2 separate regions of the Homo sapiens genome follow, and region 2 is linked to region 1. Evidence: promoter capture Hi-C in human tissues and cell types (Jung and others, 2019). All regions are on one chromosome and are shown on one strand. The core of a region is centred on a gene start or on the middle of the fragment in contact, and the rest is flanking DNA. Distances in the headings are between cores, read along the strand shown.

Region 1 (7,186 bases), core at 4,058-6,557:
TTCGGGCTTGCTTTTCCTCCCTCATCATTTAGAGTGTTTATTTAGATTTCCTCTTTAACCTTTCTCATTGTTCTGAAAGTACAGGATATGACGTGGCTCAGTGACTAGAATGGACCTCTATTATTTCCATTCCCAGAGTATAAATATCCAAACTGCTTCAACCTGATAGGAATAGTCAAAAGCAGACAATCATCTCGGCTACTGCAGGCTTTCCTCTTTGGAACCCACCTATGGTCATCCTGTCAGTCTGACATGAATCTGGTCACTGGGGTAGGTGCTGTTCCAAGGCCCAAACTTTGCTGGCAGGAACAGACTAAAGAACTGAGCAGCGCTGACGCTGCTGTCACTGCATGCCACATCCTCTTCACGGCCCTCGATACCCTGGGGACACTGACACCAGAGGAAGTTTTAAAAACAGCCTGTGTCTGAATTATCCAAGAACAAACAGAAAAGACTTGCTTGGCTAAAATCAACAGGGTTTGATGTTACAACTGCAGTTGAAAGGCTTAAATCGGTTCTCTTTAAAGCAGCAGGCACCCCCAGACATCTTATGGGTGATTCCTTTTCTTTTCTGTAACGCATTCGAACAAAACTCAGGTAACTTTAGAAGGTATATGATATGCAAATTTATAGACCTTCCAGTTGTTTCCATCTGAGTCCCCTTTTCAGGCTTTTTATCTCTGCTTCCCCTTGCTCCCCAATCAGGATCCTCTCCTCTCAGCTCTTCTTTCCCATTCCACTCTCCTAAATGCAATCACAGGATGAGTCAAGGGGAAGCAAAATAAATACTGCAGCTGCTTTCTCTCTTTGTTTTTACAGAAAAGTCTGTGTGGCTGCTTTTGAAGAAGAAAGCTGCTTTCGATTATGTAAGATGATGCTCTCTTTGGTAAAAGTTTTGGTCTGGTCTCAAGAGACTTGGCTTTTTTTTTTTTTCTTTTTGAGACGGAGTCTTGCTCTGTTGCCCAGGCTGGAGTGCAGTGGCATGATCTCGGCTTGCTGCGACCTCCACCTCCCAGGTTCAAGCAATTCTCCTGCTTCAGCCTCCCGAGTAGCTGGGATTACAGGCTCACAATACCACACCCAGCTAATTTTTGTATTTTTAGTAGAGACGGGGTTTCACCATGATGACCAGGCTGGTCTTGAACTCCTGACCTCAGGTGATCCATCTACCTCAGCCTTCCAGATTGCTGGCATTACAGGTGTGAACCATTGCCCCCAGTCTAAGAGGCTTGGCTTCTATTCTTGTCTCTTGTGATCTTTACTCTTTCTTTACTCTTGTGTCTCTTTACTCTCTGGGACTAGAGTTCCTCCTCTGTCAAAAGAGGAATACAAACTCCCCAGCCGGTCTATGTAACAGAGAAGAGGAAGAGGAAGAGCCCAATTTAGCTGGGTAGATTCTCTTTGGGAGAAGTTGACTTCCCCTTATCCCAAAGCATATGTATTGACTTTGGAGACCATCTAGAGTGGCCCAATTCCAAGTCATAGGAGAATGAGATGGTAGCCATGAGGAGGGCTAAATAGAGAGATGGAATGCCTTAGACTGGGCTAGCATAATTGTATGCCTGTGACTGCCCAATAGAATCAATTTCAGGGTGACCTGTTGTCTTATGCAGTGTGTATTTTCTCTCCTTTCCTGTAACTTGGAGTGAACTAATGTAAAAAGACCAAAGTCCCCAGCCTATTCTGCAGCAGTGTAATCTTTTTTTACTACATATATATGTGTATATATATATATATATACATATATATATAAAATTAAAAAATATATATTTTAGACAGAGTCTCACTCTGTTGCCCAGGCTGGTGTGCAGTGGCACGACCTCGACTCACTGCAACCTCTGCCTCCCAGGTTCAAGCTATTCTCCTACCTCAGCCTCCAAAGTAGCTGGGATTACAGGTGTCCGCAATTATGCCTGGCTAATTTTTGTATTTTTAGTAGAGACAGGATTTCACCATGTTGGCTAGGCTGGTCTTGAACTCCTGACCTCAAATGATCCACCTGCCTTGGCATCCCAAAGTGCTGGGATTATAGGTGTGAGCCACTGTGCCCGGCCAGGAATGTAATCTTAAATATGGAAAAACCTCACTCCCTAAAAAACAAAGAGTGAAGTCCTCTCTGGTCTGCTATGGTTCCTGATCCCAATGCTTTGCTGTTTTACTTCAGCCAGGCAGCATTTCCAGAGCATCCACTTCTTGCCAGGGCCTGTGCTTAGAGCCAGGGGTATGAAGATCATCCCTTGTCTCTTAGATTGTTGGGGACCAGCCTCAACACCACCCGTAGGGTACCCAAAGTCCGGTGGCAACAAAGGAATGAGAAGAGACAGGTTAAGAGTGCATAAAGAGTGGGGGCCGGGGGGCCAATTGCAAAATGGAGGCTGCAAAAGGCCCAGAGTTCTGGTCTTCACTCTATTTATTGAGTACAATCCCTTAGATCTAAGAAGCAGATGTTTAGGGTGAAACAGTGAAAGGGAGGCAGTATGTCATAGGCGTAATCTATAGCAATGGCTGTTTAAATGAGTCTCCTTTGTTCTCAAACAGCATATCTTTAACTTATCGAAGAGTAGCTAGTGGGAGTGGGCTTAACTAGGAGCCTGAACGTCTGTCCACATTTCAATGCTTCAAAGGAGTGTCTTTCTCCTTGAACACAGTGTTTATAGATAAGAGAGCAGGTTGCGCTCAGAGCATGGGAACATAATGGCGATAAGAAGGCTTTCCTCCTCAGAGGCCTTTTGTGACTTGCCACAACTTATTGTCCCATATTTTTATGGCCCGTTTATGCAGGCACCCCACAAGCCCTTTTCCCAACATAGATCAGGGGTCCCCAGCCTCTGGGCCATGGACTGGTGCCAGTCCGTGGCCCGTTAGGAGCTGAGTTGCACAGCAGGAGGTGAGTAGCAGGTGAGCAAGCATTACTACCTGAGCTCCGCCTCCTGGTAAATCAGCTGCGGCATTAGATTCGCTTGGGAGCACAATCCCTATTGCAAGGGATCTAGGTTGCGTGGTTCTTATGAGAATCTAATGCCTGGTGATCTGTCACTGTCTCCCATTACCCCCACATGGAACCATCTAGTTGCAGGAGAACAAGCTCAGGGCTATCACTGATTCCACATTATGGCAAGTTGTACAATTATTTCATTATATATTACAATGTAATAATAATAGAAATAAACTGCACAATAAATGTAATGTGCTTGAATCATCCTGAAACCATCCCCGCCCCAATTCTGTGCAAAAAATGTCTTCCACGAAACCAGTCCTTAGTGCCAAAAAGGTTGGGGACCGCTGTCTTAGATGGTCTCCTTTTCTCACTCTTTCTACAGCCTATCTCCATATAGAGTTAGAGTAATATTTTAAATGTGTAGATCATGTCTCTTCCCTGCTCTAAACCCCCAGTGGCTTCCTTCTGCATTTAGGATAACATCCAAAACCCCAGACCTTTTACAACAGGGTCCTGCAGAGTCTGAGCTGAGCCCAATTCTCTGACCACATCCTACCCTTTTTGTTGTTGAGACACTGCTGTGATGCCTAAATCAGGGCCCTTTTTTAGTTGTGGTGGTGGGGAGGTCGGCAGGCACATTGAGTTGAGTTCCTCACAATTCTCAGGTCAAGCACACTGGCATCACAAGTCTCCTCTCTTGCTTTGTGTATTTATTATCCTTTTTTTTTTTTTTTTGAGACGGAGTCTTGCGCTGTCACTCAGGCTGGAGTGCAATGGCATGATCTCAGCTCACTGCAACCTCCGCCTCCGGGGTTCAAGCAATTCTCCTGCCCCAGCCCCCCGAGTAGCTGGGATTACAGGCACAGGCCACCATGCCTGGCTAATTTTTGTGTTTTTAGTAGAGACTGGATTTCACTATGTTGACCAGGCTGGTCTCGAACTCTTGACTTCAAGTGATCCATCTGCCTTGGCCTCCCAAAGTGCTAAGATACAGGTGTGAGCCACCGCGGCCGGCCTATTGTCTTATACACTTAATTCTTTTATTCCCAATTCCCAGTTTTATTCTAATTCTTCTCCCTCTGCAGGCAACCATTCTAAAATATTTCAAGTGTATCTTCTGTTGGATGTGTTTTAGCAGAATGTGATATCTGTGGGCCTATATTTTAATATACTTGATATATTTTATGCTTTTCTCACTAAGCACTAGGTTTTTCAGATCTAATCATATTGTTAAGGGCATGTTTGTAGACACCATGTTCACATTTTAACTATGCATTTTCCCAGTGACGGACACCAGATTGCCCCCAACTTCCCATCCTCAGGAATAAAACTGCAACGAGCACCCTGCGCAGTGTGAGACCCAAGTGACAGGCCACAGGAGGGCACTCGCTGGCCATGGGGCATGCAACATACAGCTCTGAATTTGCTGCTTTCCAGAATAGCCTTAGTAGCTTCACAGTCTTGGTACTTGGAATTCTCTCACTCTGGAATGATTATCTCCTGGGATCTTAAAGCGTTTTCTCCTGCTCAACAGTGAGGTCTTAACTCAAATATCACTGTCTCAGAGAGGCCTTCCCAATCTCACAGTTATCCCCACAACCCACCCTCCCCAGGTTACTCTGTAATTTTTATGTGAACAGGGTTTCACTCTGTTGCCCAGGCTGGAGTACAGTAGCACCATCTCCACTCACTGCAGCCTCAACTTCCGGGGTCAACTGATCCCTCAACCTCAGCCCCCTGAATAGCTGGGATTACAGGCGCATGCCACCATGCATGCCTGACTGATTTTTGCATTTTGCAGACACAGGGTTTCGCCACGTTGCCCAGGCTGGTCTCGAACTCCTGGGCTCAAGTGATCCGCCCGCCTCGTCCTCCCACAGTGCTGGGGTTACAGGCGTGAGCACACCCAGCTACTTTTCACAATTTGAAATGCTCTGTGATAGCTTATTTATGATCTGTCTTCTTTTTCTTCACGAGGGCAGGGGTCGCTGTCCTATTCACCAGCCATCTAGCATAGCCTTAGCAAATGGTAGGTTCTCAACATTATTGAATAAAGTAATGACATAATAAAAAAATAGTATTGTAATATCAATCCGTTCCAAACTCTATGGTTAGAAAAGCGGGGAACATAACTGGCGACACACGTAGGGAAGGCTCTTTAAAAGGGACCTAAAGGTCAACTGGAGTCCCTGGTGATCAGCCCCTTCTGCACTCGGATCTATTCCGCAAGCCTACGCGCCCATATTCACTGGGCCCCACCTGCCTAGCGGACGGGTGCAATCCCCGGCAAGCCCGCAGGGGGCGCGCAGAGCACGTCGTCCGGGGAGAACTAAAACTACATTTCCCAGCATCCCGCGCGCCGCAGACCCACTTCCGGAGACCTCACACAAGATGGCGGCACCCGAGGAACACGATTCTCCGACCGAAGCGTCCCAGCCGATTGTGGAAGAGGAGGAAACTAAAACATTTAAAGACCTGGTGAGAATGGATGACGCTGGCTTCTTTTATGTACTCTGGTGCTAGGCTCAGGGAGACCCCAGGTACCTTAGATCCCGCTCTGATAGTGTACAAAAGCATCTTGGGGCCTAGCTTGGGTTTTCCCCAGAATTTCAGAGGGCTGGGTTTCGGACGTGCTCTGAGTTTGGGTGGTGGGAGGGCTGCTGGGCCCTGAGACCCCCTATTTGCCCTATTCGCCACTTTAGTGTGGCAACGTTTGTATGTGCATCCAGGAGGTTGTACATATGGGGAATGGAATTGGTCTCTTTATAACTGGAGCTTTGGAGTCAGATGAACCAACCAGATTTGAATTTTGACACAGTCTCTTACTGAGGACAAGTTGTTACCTCTCTGTGTTTCTCTTTCCACATCTGTAAATTGGGGATAGTAATAAGTACTTACCTCGCAGAATTGTTGTGACGATTAAATGAGATGATACATGTAAAGCACCTGGCCTTGGCCTTGGTGAGCAGAAAGTGTTCGTTAAGTCTTGAGCTACTGTCTCATGGTATAGTTAAAGAGTAGGCTCTGAGATGCACAGTAAATACCTTTTAAATCAAATACAATGGTTGTACATGATGGGTCTGACAGTCAGTTAAGTAGGAGGGAGGTAGGGGTGTGCTGTTCTTGGCTAAGGTATATTTTTCTGAATTCCAAGGGTGTGACAGATGTGTTGTGTGAAGCTTGTGACCAGTTGGGATGGACAAAACCCACCAAGATCCAGATTGAAGCTATTCCTTTGGCCTTACAAGGTAGGTTGTATGACTTCGTACAGATTTAATATAAAGTTATCTCAATTAGATACCCCTTTTGAAAGCTGTTGCTTGCATACTTCAAGTGAAATAAGGATATGGTCACTAAAGGTACAAAGTTTGGGTAATGGTATTTGAAAATGTCATTCTCCAATTTTACTGAGCTTACTTTCTGTCTTAATAGCTGAAAGGGTTTGTTCTCTGCCACAGATGCTGACTTTAAGGAAGCCCTAGGTTAAAGTTAAAGTATATTAACGACAATCTTGGTAGACTTTATGCATCAGTGGGCGCACACTTAGGGAAGGATGCCTGGAACACATATGTGTGTCTTGAGGAGTTGAGAATTCTTGCTGTGAGCCATGTTTATCAGATTTGTAAAACAGTGGTTAAAGCAGATTGATGGCTACTGGAACTGAAACTAATGGGATGAACTTTTTTCTTTTTGAGATCTTTTTTTTAAGATGGAGTTTTTTTTGAGATAGAGTTTCGCTCTGTCGCCCAGGCTGGAGTGCAGTGGTGCGGTCTTGGCTCACTGCAACCTCTGCCTTCCAGGTTCAAGCAACTCTCCCGCCTCAGCCTCCCAAGTAATGGATTACAGGCGCATCACCATGTCCGGCTAATTTTGTATTTTTAGTAGAGATGGGGTTTCAGCATGTTGGCCAGGCTGGTCTCGAACTCCTGACCTCAAGTGATCTACCTGCCTTGGCCTCCCAAAGTGCTGGGATTACAGGTGTGAGCCACCACATCTGGCTGTAACAGGATGAACTTTAATAGGAGTAGAAGTAAAGTCCTGCTCTTAGATTCCTAAAGTACCAACTTTACAGGATTAGGGTGGGTGATAAAAGAGGCCCAGAGGTCTTAGTTAACTGAAATCTATTAAGATCCTCAGAGAGAGTGAATGTAATCATAGCAATTGTTATAAGAGGGGTAATGTGGCTAATTATTGTTAGTATTAATGTAGCTATTACTGTATTACTATATTATTAGTGATTAATGTAAG
Region 2 (6,683 bases), core at 2,716-5,215, 1.2 Mb after region 1:
TGAGCCACATGAGTGAATCTAGATTACACCAGTAGAAGAACTGTCCAGCTAAGCTCATCCCATAGAATGATGAGCAAATAGCAATAACAGCAAGTAACAACAGTTGTTTTAAGCTACTAAGTTTTGAGGGTATTTGTTATGCAGCAATACATAACTGATACACTAGTAATGAGCAATTCCATAGTCCATCATTTTGTGGATGTAGAGATTCCCCAAAGTTCTGAAGCCATCTTCAATGCCCCTTAGATTAATGAGTTTTCCTGCAATTTTGAGGAATTTTATCTCAGTTCCCCAGGCTTTTTGCAGAGCAACAGGGACCTAGTAACATAAACTTATTATATTACTATCTCACAGAATGGCTCAATCTCTCCACAGAGGTGATTTCTGGGAGCCATCTTTACTCGTCTCTGTCCCAGTGGCCATAGCTACTTAGTCCAAAAATAGATACCTAGTACAAGTTGGGCAATCAACATCTCTCTAAGGTAAATATGAAATATTGACTGGAGGCCCAGAAACTAAAACCTTTGAGAACTGAGTCTGTTGAATGGTAGTGTTCTGGAAGGAAATCTATCACTACCCTGAGGTTCCAGAGCTATGCTGGTCCCTGCCCTTCCTTAAGAGCGGGTGTTCGACTCCTCATTAGACTGTGTCACATATTCTGATATTCTTCCAACCTATCTTTGGCCGAATGGAAGCCCATGGCTAACCCCTAAGGACTCCTCAGGGGACAGTGGCCTCTGCTCTTCTCCTGTTCAGGAGTCAGAAGGGAGCAGCTGTCCAGGAAGATAATCTCATTTTATGAGGAGATCAAAAAAGTTGGCATCTCATGGTTCTTCATTGTTTCATCTGCTGCCCAAATCACTGCTAACATCAAATAAAAGTAAATCTCTGTCAGTAATGATTTAACTGATAAAAGCTCTTCCCGTCCCTACTGCTCCACACTCTTATCATATAGACACATGGAAGCAGGGTTTATTGGAGGAATATTAGAATATGTGACAGAATCTAATGAGGAGTCAAACACACCTACTCTTTAGGAAGAGCAGGACCAGCATAGCTCTAGGACCTCACAGTGGTGATAGATTTCCTCCCAAAACACTACCATAAAGCAGACTCACTTCTCAAAGATTTCAGTTTCTGGGTCTCCATTCAATATTCTGTATTTACCACGGGGAAACATCGATTGCCCAACTTGTACTAGTTGTCTATTCTTAGACTAAGTAGCTATGGCCACTGGGACGGAGACAAGTAATAACAGAAAGATGACTATCAGAACTCTGTGCTCTTCACATCCACCTGTTGGTGACGTTGCGTGTAAATGATGATACCTATAGTTGATTTCTCAGGAAACAGGGCACACGGTGGTCTGTGGCACTGTGTACAAGGTCTTTTCCCCACTGCCTACCAAGGGAGGTGTGGCCATTATACAACCTTGTTTTCTGTGACATCAAAAATCTATACTCCTCTACATATAACTGTAATATTCTAATTTTGTATAAGAAAGCTTACTTTTAAAAGCAGGAATCTTACATAATTACCACAATTCAGGACCCAGCAAAAAGACTGCAGGTAACAAAGTCATTTTCTATTCTATTTGCACATGGAAAGGTGAATGCTGTGAAATAGCTCCTGAGGGCATCTTGTTTTCAATAAGAGCTCACACAGTCCACAGCTAAATTCCACCTATTTCATTCAGGAGAAGTCTGGGAATTGATTTGGTTTTGTTACTAAAAAAGAAAAATTATCTTAGTAAATGTCCAGCAAATGAGAATTAGAGAACTTTACAATGTCATGGTAATATTTGCAAAGGATGAGTTAGAATAAAATTAAGTGCCTCATTGCCAGATGTTAATGTGCTTGGGTCTCTTTTTGGCTCTTTAAAAAATATAAACAAGGCATTTGAGTAAATTTAAATATTAAAGAAGTTGGGGTCTTTTAGTAAACAGTTTCAAGCTGCAACCCACAGATTGACAGCAAATATTCACCTTTGGATAAGAGCAAAGTCCCTGATTCTGATCATATTAGAACTTTTTCCTCCATTTTCAGAAACCAAAATGTTGAGTTTTCTGAAAAAGTTACGATTTACATAAACCATCGATTTACTTCAACTCCTTGTTAAATGGAAAAAGGGAGAAAAGGGAAATAATTATACAAATATAAAAGTGGAAATGTTTTTAATCCCATTCTACCAATCCTGAAGTTTAAAAGAAGTTTCCTAAAATTGAACTAAAACATGTATCATTTTTAGTTTTAGTAATCCCAAAGAGACCACATTTCATATATAACATCTCTATTCAAGTTAAAAAAATCAAACAAAAATTTCTAGACAAAAACTGTCCCTTTAGCACTTTCATTAAAGTTAAAACCATTTCTTTTAAAATGAGCAATTACATACTGATAATAGAACCCTGTGTATATTGTGTAATATGTACATTTTTGTACATTATATGATGGATAAAGACTACATAGATACCAAAAACATTCCAAGAAAGGGTTAAATTTGGTCAGTGGAAACTGCCATTCTTTCAACAACCTATGCTCATGACCTGTGAATCATTTTTCTTTCATTTATTCACTCACTCCTTTACTTACACTTTCACTCAGAAACATTTACTGATGGCTACAGTATACAGTACCAGGCAATGTGCTAAGCACTGGGGATGAAGAGAATTAAAATACAGGCTTCCATCCTCAGAAGCTTACACTCTGATCATGGGAACTTTCCACTCTCTTACTCCCTACATCCGATCATGAAAATTGACATAAATGTCTTTTCTTTCCATCTCTTCCTTGCCTCCGTCATGATCAAGGTCATTATCTTCGCAGCTGAATGGTTAAAATGGTTTTCCAATTGGACTTCCCACATCTAGCGTCTTCTCTCTCCACAACTTCTTTATACCATTATGTCATTCAGCTTACAAAAAGATTGATCTGATTTTGTCGCATTCCTGCACAAAAGTCTTCACAGTAGCTCCCCCACTTTCCCCAGGGAAAAGATTAACTCCACATTTCAACTAGTATTATCAATATTGCTAATAATTGCTTACTATTAGCAATTAGGCACTGTGCTAAACACTTTATGCATTATTTCATTTACTTCTCATGACTGCCTCTTAAGGCAAGAACTGTCACCTTCATTTTATAAATGAGAAAAATGAAGCCAAGAGGTGATCAATGACTTTTCCAAGGTCACACAGAGAGTAGGTAGCAGACTGACACCAAAATGCATATTCTTAACCACTCACGGACCCAGCATTCTGCTCTTGATTCAGTCTTAACTCTGTGCAAGCTTTGCCTCTGTGCAACCTTTGCTCCTGCTAGGCATCCCATGCACCTGTTCTTTACCTTCTCCATGCCTTCTAAATCCTATTAATATTCATTCAAAGCCCAATTTAAGTCCCCTCTCCTCTGTGAACTTGTCCTAGACCAGTCTAGTCTGCATGCTATTTTCTCTGCCACTCATTTGGCACTGAGAGATGTTCTGTACCATAGTTTTTACATAAATATCTCATATGTCTCAGGTACAACAATGAAAATCTATTAAGAGAATTTAGAGACAGAGTCTCACTCTGTCACCCAGGCTGGAGTGCAGTGGCTCACTGCAACCTCCACCTCCCATGCTCAAGCAATTCTCCCACATCAGCCTCCCGAGTAGCTGGGACTACAGGTGCACATGACCACACCAGGCTAATTTTTGTATTTTTATTTTAAGTAGAGACAGGATATCACCATGTTGGCCAGGCTGGTCTCAAATTCCTGACTTCAAATGATTTGCCTGCCTTGGCCTCCCAAAGTGCTAGTATTAAGCCACAACACCCAGCCCCTCCTAGATTCTTAATGAATATTTGCAGTTTTTGTGGTGCTACTCACATAACACACACTCAATAAATTAACGTTACATGAGCGAATGAAGAGTTTAGAGGGAAGTCTATCACCGTTTAAGTGATTTTGATGCAGAAAACATTCTCCTGCCATGATTGGTGAAAAAGGTGGGTGTCTGAGGTGCTGTATTTCTCTTTCCCAGCATGTCATAGAGAACAGAAACTCCCAGGACGTTACAGGACTTCCCCAAATCCTGCCCAAGTATTCAGACCAAAAAGGATTATTAAAAAATCCCTGTCCTGATCCTCAGTCTGAATAAGATCTATGTGAAACTTTAGCCCCGGGGTCTTAGCAAGCTCCGAGATAAAAATGATGGACTTCCCAAACATTTGACAGTAACACAGTCTGGTTATGACCCGGTGATTACAGAGGCTGAAGATTCCCACTCTCTCCTCAAACTGCAAGGAATGGTTTTAATTATAGCTCCAATCTAAGCCACTTGGAGGCGTCTGGGAACCACAGAGCTCCCAGCATGCTAGCCGTGTCCTTGCAAACTGATACCCCCTCACTATGCATGGTGGAAAAGGTTGACTATCCCGCATGCAATATCGGAGGTTGGCCAACTGGACAGTGATCTCCAGTTGCTCATCTTATTAGTGGAAAAGCCTGCCCAGTAGCAAGACAATACAAAATACCTGACACCATCCTTATCTTTGGGAATTAGCAGCAGAGCAGGGTCCATGCCTTCACTTCTTTGCTAAGAAAAACAACATGGTGTATGACTTGACAATGGAAGATTCTGGACAGAGCCTAAGATGGCTTAAAGTAAGCATTGTTTTTTCTGAGGAAGGGAAGAAACAGAAGCTTGAGGCATGTTGGATACATGTTCTCTGGAAGAGAACTGATAATACATTACATTTGGAACTAGACTTTTCGGTTTTCAAAGTGGTTTCATAAAGTGTTATATGACCTCAGCATCTATCAACCCTAGATGGCTTGGGCAGCTTACATATCCTCCATTCAACACAGGTGGTAAGAAGACCCCTAAGGGTTGCTGGGGATCTCACAGTTAGTGATTGTCAGAGCCAGGGCTAGAACATTTTAGTCTCTCACATTGCCTCTAGCTGCAGGGCCAGTCACATCACATGGTTATTTCCCAAGACTGAAGGAGTTGTAATATAAAATTGCTTGGTTAGGTTGGTTCTTTTTTTTTTTTTTTGCTTCCATTCCTGTTTCAATTTGCTCACTTTCTATTCCTTCCTTCCCACCTTCCTAGGCCACCCCCTCCCTCCCCCGACACACTGTCTCTCCTAAGCTTGCTTCAGATGCTACTTCACTGGCAGCCTTGGCTGCAAATCTCCTAGACTCACAGCCAACACTTGGAGCTCACAGATTACAGAGCTGTGTCCTCAGACTGCCTGTTGCTTTTTCTCAGGGTTGGATGAATTGCTTTCTTTTTTTTTTTTTAAAGGAGGAGAAGTGTTGGAGAGGAGAGGAAAAGAATTGAATAATTCTAGAATTAACAGCAATTTATTTTTACCCAAAGAAGGCCCCAAATTATCTAATGCTAACTCCTTAGGTTTGTGACGGACAAGTCAGAGACATTGGCAGGGGGGTAGGAGGGAATACCCCAGGATAAAATGCTTTCAGTGTTATGGCATTTTGTTCTAACTTACTGGCTATATTAGTCTGTTCTCACTGCTATAAGGACATAAAGGAGATTAGGTAATTTATAAAGGAAAGAGGTTTAATTGACTCACAGTTCTGCATGGCTGGGAAGGCCTCAGGAAACTTACATTCATGACGGAAGGCAAAGGGGGAGCAAGGCACCTTCTGCACAAAGCAGCAGGAAGGAGAAGTGCTGAGCAAAGGAGAAAGAGCCCCTTATAAAACCAACAGATCTTGTGATAACTCACTTATTATCAGGAGAACAGCACGGCGGAAGCCAACCCCATGATTCAATTACTTCCACCTGGTCACTCCCTTGACACATGGGGATTATGGGGATTATAGGAATTACAATTCAAGATGAGATTTGGGTGGGGACACAAAGCCTAACCGTATCACTGGCCAACATCTTAGCACCTAATGAGAAAGATAGAAACAGAGCTCTCATATTACTCAGACAGTTTACTGCCAAATTGTGAGCAAGAGTCATCAGAGGGGGGGTGAGACATGCAGGGAGCTGTCAATCAGCTTCTCTGACTACCATTAAATTCACACTTGCACACAAAGCACATATGAGCAGTGAAAAGGGAACAAGAGGAAATCTGAAGGCTAAATTGTCATTCTCCCCAGAGGGAGAAAAGTTCTGAAACTATCAAAGCGAAGGTTCTACTTTGATCTTCTCTTTCTTTCACATCAAAATTGTCCACACAGCTCCTGCCATGACCAACACTTCCACTGAGTTTCTCAAGGAGAAATGGCGACACAGCCCTCCTGTGCTTCCCGAGGAATAAAGACTGTACCTGAACTGAGCATTGCTGTGGGATCCGCTTGTTGCTGGCAGGCTAATAAGAGAAAAGATTCACTACTGTGAATCAAGTAAATAAACATGCCTAGGAAATACTATGGCAGCAGATAACACTGAGAGAAAAATGAGAATCAGTACTATTTTTAGTGGCAGCTTTCTGATGATAATTGTACTTGAAGAGAAACTAGCGTGAACAATATAAAGGCAAAGTTAATTTCAGATCCTAAGCTTGCTGTACTGTTCTTGGATTATTTGAAATACAATGTAATCCACAGTCATTTTAACTGTGTGACAAGGAAATCTGGGGACACCTTAAGTAGCTGCTGGGAGGCTCGGGGGTAAATGAGAGTGGAGGAAAGTTGATCATAGAAACATATTTTACTTTTAA

The links. Contacts are between HindIII fragments. The study calls those that stand out against the background at their distance.
Region 2: a fragment that was not itself captured here is called in contact with the fragment with the promoter of DDX47 in region 1 in 1 of the 25 tissues and cell types used here (dorsolateral prefrontal cortex).

What each region holds. Positions count from the first base shown.
Region 1 is chr12:12,808,039-12,815,224 of GRCh38, forward strand. DDX47 (DEAD-box helicase 47) reads left to right here and starts at 5,308. Exons shown (of 12, transcript NM_016355.4): 1 at 5,308-5,416; 2 at 6,093-6,186. The coding sequence starts at 5,330. RefSeq lists an enhancer at 5,135-5,444. The HindIII fragment of the contact is 22,330 bases long and covers 1-7,186 here.
Region 2 is chr12:14,053,762-14,060,444 of GRCh38, forward strand. No RefSeq gene overlaps it. Among named protein-coding and RNA genes, the nearest start is that of GRIN2B, 76 kb to the left of the region's middle. The HindIII fragment of the contact is 3,729 bases long and covers 2,102-5,830 here.